2 separate regions of the Homo sapiens genome follow, and region 2 is linked to region 1. The links are contacts of gene promoters, found by promoter capture Hi-C in human tissues and cell types (Jung and others, 2019). All regions are on one chromosome and are shown on one strand. Each heading gives the region's core, a stretch centred on a gene start or on the middle of the fragment in contact. The rest is flanking DNA. Distances are from core to core; before and after follow the strand shown. Region 1 holds the start of CCR4 (C-C motif chemokine receptor 4). Region 2 overlaps GLB1 (galactosidase beta 1).

Region 1 (2,614 bases), core at 49-2,548:
GGAGTGTTAGGAAAAAAAGTCTCAAAAGACTCCTTGGGGCAAGTGATAATGAAAAAAAAGAAGGGGTTCCCTAACACCATTCTAGCTCAGTGTTTTAATTTCTATTTATGCCAATTCCTTAGAAAGAATGATCTTTATGGCTCTTTTAAGCTGAATCAAAGAGCTAAGCAACAGTTGAAACACAGGGAAAGCATCTGGAAGTTGCCAAAAAGCTGAGGCTATGAGAGACTTAGGGCTCATGTCAGCCCCTCGCTTATGACTGCTACCCACATCCAAAGTGAAGATCAAGACCTCAGCCAAGACCACTGCCAATGAAGCTCCGCAATCCCCAAGCAGAAGGCGCTTGGGTGAGGGGTCTTCCTGACTCAAAAGGACTTGAAGCTATGTTGCCAGGCCACTTCACACTGGTTTGAGGCCATGTCAACTATTGAATCAAAGAATGTGGTTGGCTGATGCCTTCCAAGTCACTCACAGACACATACATTTGGACAAATTTTTCTCTTCTCTCTTCTTGAATATCCTTTTTCTTGACTATCTCTGGCCTTCCTTCTCACCCTGGCCTCTCAGATCCCAGTTGTCAGGAGAACATTGCACATCTTGATTGCTGGCCCCTGCATATCCATGATGAGAAACTAGCAAACAGGTTGCTGATCCAAAATGTAGAGATCATTGCTACCGCATATGGCCAGTTAAATGGAATTTTTTTTTTTAAACTAAAAAGCGAAAAAGGAGTGGCTGATTCCTGTAATCCCAGTGCTTTAGGAAGCTGAGGTGGGAGGATTGCTTGAGGCCAGTAGTTCAAGATGAGCCTGGGCAATATAGCAAGACCCCTATCTCCCCAAAAATTAAAATTAGTCAGTCATGGTGGCTTGCACCTCTAGTCTCAGCTACTTGGGAGACTAAGGCAGGAGGATCACTTGAGCCCAGGAGTTCAAGGTTACGGTGAGCTATGATTGCACCACTGAACACCAGTCTGGGTGACAGAGTGAGACCCTGTTTCTTTAAAAAAATCTCTTTTTTAAAAACCAACAAATACATTTTTGTATTTTTAAAAAAACTAAAAATCTTTTTTAAAAAGAAAATGACTTCATTTTTTTTCTTAATCTTTTTTTGGCACATCTTCTTGGCCTTCGGTCTTGGGAAATGACTAAGAATCATTTTCTGCTTCCTACTTCTATCAAAAAACCCCACTTGAACTTAGTACAGTTGGGTGAGGGAGATAACTCGTGCTCACAGGAAGCCACGCACCCTTGAAAGGCACCGGGTCCTTCTTAGCATCGTGCTTCCTGAGCAAGCCTGGCATTGCCTCACAGACCTTCCTCAGAGCCGCTTTCAGAAAAGCAAGGTAAGCAGGGACGGGGACATTCCCAGGGTCTTGGGTCGCACACTGCTTTCTGGACCTGGCTGAGATGCTCAGGCCCCTCACGAGTCTAGGGCTTACACTTGGCACCTACCTTGCAGCCCACACACCTTCTACCTGTCCCCACACCCTCTGAGCCCTCATCTGATGGGCACTAATTTATGCAGGACTCTCTTCCTGCACACATCTGGCCTGAGTCCACATGCCCCAAATAAATAGATCATTTTCATAAAAAATATACACTTGTCTGCTTCTTGCTTCTAGCAAGACTCCCAGGCAAGAAATACCACACACGCAAGGCCTACAGAATAATTCCAGACACTTACCAGCTGTGTCTCCTGGCTTTTTGTTCTCCTGATAATTTCCTAACTCCTCAGCCTTGTTTATGCCTTTCATTTTCACTGGTAAAATGGTGGAGAAAGACTAGAATTGTTAGTCATTCAACAAACTTTTTTGGAGACTCTGTGATGTAACAGGTGTTCAGTATCTATTTGCATGAGTAAACCAAAATCTTTTTTCTTTCTTTTTTTCTTTTTCTTTTCTTTCCTTTTTATTTTTTATTTTTTTTGAGACAGGATTTCACTCTGCTGCCCAGGTTGAAGTGCAATGGTGCCATCATAGCTCACTGCGCCTTGAACTCCTGGGCTCAAGGGATCCTCCTGCCTCAGCCTCCTGAGTAGCTGGTACTATCAGCACGTACCACCACACCCAGCTAACTTTTAAAACAATTTTTTGTAGAGACAGGGTCTCCTTATGTTGCTCACGCTGGCATGGAGCTCCTTGGCTCAAGTGATCCTCCCTCCTCGGCCTCCCGACGTGCTGGGATTATAGGCGTGGGCCACTGCACACCTGGCTTCAAAAGCCCTTTCTTGAGAAACACAGTTTGGGCATTGGGTGTGTGGTGGTGGGGGTGTGGGGAGAGATCGAATGTGAATTTACTGACGAATGTGAAAAGGATTTTAACAAGGAATGTGAGGGTCCCACAAAAGCCTCAAGAAGGAAGCAAGGGAGTGGCCTTGAGTCGGAAAGCCCTTCAGCCCTGAATTGCTCTGATACACATGTCAGCATGTGATTAATTTTAAGAAGATTTCAACCTCTTTATCTGCCAATTTAGATAGGAAGTGAAGGTGGTTGGGGAGGTAGAGGTTTTATTTCTGGCTGTGATGTGTGTTTTCTAGATCCATCAGGTGAATTCCCACTCTAATAGGATTCTGTGCGTAGAATTGATTTTTACGTGCAGTTTGATGATGATCA
Region 2 (2,614 bases), core at 39-2,538, 130 kb after region 1:
TCCAATCAGAGTGACAGAGCAAGAGTCTGTTTCAAAAAAAAAAAAAAAAAAAGCGAGAGAGAGAGAAACAAACATAAAATCAAACAAAATTAAGAACCCCATAATCAGGAGATACAGGAAAATCTCTGTACTTTCCACTCAATTTTGCTATAAGGCTACAACTATTCTAAAAAATATAGTCCATTAAAAAACAATAAAATCCATAATCTCTTATTTGAATTGTAAATACTAGTATACACTTATGATTTTTTTTCTCTCTAAAAAAGTATTGCATTTCCTAGCAATACCCAAAGACACAGTTTGGAAATGATATCAGCGGGTAGCAATCTAACCCATATAGCGCCTAAATTGTGATCTGCAAACATTTCCCACTAAAAGTAACCAAAGCTGCTTCTTCAAGAAATTAGTTAATCCAAGTCTGTGGCATAAGATGTACAAAACAGGGCTAGATTAAAAAAAAAAACAAAACTATTAGGGTCTCATCAAAATGACAAGATGACAGGGCTCCAACCAGCTCAAGTGCAGTGGTTCACACCTGTAATGCCAGCATTTTGGGAGGCTGATTACAGGTTCACACCTGTAATCCCAGCATTTTGGGAGGCTGAGGACTGCTTGAGGCCAGGAGTTTGAGACCAGCCTGGGCAACAAAGAGAGACTCTGTCTCTACCAAAAAAAAAAAAAAAGAGCCAGGAGTGGTGGTGGTGGTGCATGCCTGTAGTCCTAGCTATCTGGAGGCCAAAGTGAGTGTATCGCTTAAGCCCAGGAAATTGAGAGTGCAGTGAGTTACAGTCACACCACTGCACTCCAGCCTGAACAACAGAGCAAGACTAAGACTCTAAAAAGTAAAAAATGAAAAATGAAAAGGTCCCAACTGGCCAAAGATGGGCTATTTTGAGTATTAAAAGATGTAACACTTTGATGAACTAAAAAACATCAGATATATAAAATATCTAAATATCTAAATTCCTAACAATATTTCACCCACCCAGAAGAAAAGCTTATTGGTCATTCTTGGAGGTTGCTGTGGTATCAGATCATTATGCTATAAACTAAGGAATCAAGTGAAAGAATCTGGTATCTGTCTTGCCTTTGTTATAGGCTTTTTCAGAGTAACCACATAATTAATGAGGAGAGTTCTTTGTAAAGGATCCATAGCCAGTAAATGCAGGAAAAAAAGGGTAGAATTTTACAAATCACTATTCTGCAATCTTTAGTGAAATAATGACATTAGGCAACAATCACCAATGACTGCTGAAACATTAAATGGAAAGATAATGCGGAATTTTCTAGTGGAGGGATCAAGCTGACAACACCTGGACCAACAGGTCAATCTTAATATCAGTGAAGCAATGAATTCTTCCTACCCAAAAAGCGAAAAAGTTGAACCTGAATCCAACCAGCCTCTAGCTCTAACCTTTAGAGAGCTTTAGCTCTATGAGCTCACAGAAAATATGAACATGTTAAATGACACCAAAATCTAAAATGTATAAAATTTTAAGACATATGACCCAGATAACTTGAACAAATAAATGATAAAAAATAAGGAAAAGGGGATGTTATAGACTTAAGGAGACTGAAGAAATACACCACAGGCAAAATATAGACCTATTTTTAGATCCTGTTTCAAACAAAATAACTATAAAAAGACAATTCCATAAGAAGAAAAAAATAAACCCAAAGCTAGCAAAAGGAAATAAAATATTAGAGTAGAAATAAACAAAAGAGAATAGAAAGATAGTAGGAAAAAAAAACAGTTGGTTTTTGAAAAAAAAATCAACAAAATTGAGAAACTTAACTAGATTTAAAAAAAAGAAGATATAAATAAATCAGAAATGAAGAGGGGACATTATAACTGATGACACAGAAATAAAGAATTGTAAGAGAATAGCATGAACAACTGTATGCCAACAAATTGGATAACCTAGAAGATATGGATAAATTTCTAGACACACCCAGCCCACCAAGACCGAATCATGAAGAAACAGAAAATCTATACAGACCAATAGCTATTAAAAAGATTGAATCAGTCATCAAAAACCTCAAAGAGGCCGGGTACGGTGGCTCCCGCCTGTAATCCCAGCACTTTGGGAGGGGGAAGCGGCCAGATCACTTGAGGTCAAGAGTTTGAGACCAGCCTGGCCAACATGGTGAAACCCCGTCTCTACTAAAAATACAAAAATTAGCCGGGTGTGGTGGCGCGTGCCTGTGGTCCTGGCTACTTGGGAGGCTGAGGAAGGAGAATCGCTTGAACCTGGGAGGTGGAGGTTGCAGTGACCCAAGATCATGCCTCTGCACTCCAGCCCCGGCGACAGAGCAAGACCATGTCTCAGCATGCGCGCACACACACACACACACACACACACACACACACACACACACACACACACACTCAAAGAAAAACCTAGAACCAGATGGCTTCACTGGAGAATTCTACCAAACATTTAAAGAAGAATTAATACCAATCCTCCTGAAACTATTACAAAAGTTGAAGAGGAGGAACATTTCTAAATTTATTCTATGAGACCAATATTATCCTAATACCAAAGCCAGACAAATACACTACAAGAAAACTACAGAACAATAATATTCCTGGTGAATATTGATGCAAAAATCC

What was found. The method cuts DNA at HindIII sites, captures the fragments that hold promoters and counts their contacts. A contact is called where the count stands out against the background at its distance.
Region 2: a fragment that was not itself captured here is called in contact with the fragment with the promoter of CCR4 in region 1 in 1 of the 25 tissues and cell types used here (adrenal gland).

What each region holds. Positions count from the first base shown.
Region 1 is chr3:32,950,346-32,952,959 of GRCh38, forward strand. CCR4 (C-C motif chemokine receptor 4) reads left to right here and starts at 1,299. Exons shown (of 2, transcript NM_005508.5): 1 at 1,299-1,345. The HindIII fragment of the contact is 21,428 bases long and covers 1-2,614 here.
Region 2 is chr3:33,085,242-33,087,855 of GRCh38, forward strand. All of the region lies in intron 1 of GLB1 (galactosidase beta 1), which reads right to left. Among named protein-coding and RNA genes, the nearest start is that of GLB1, 11 kb to the right of the region's middle. The HindIII fragment of the contact is 5,700 bases long and covers 1-2,614 here.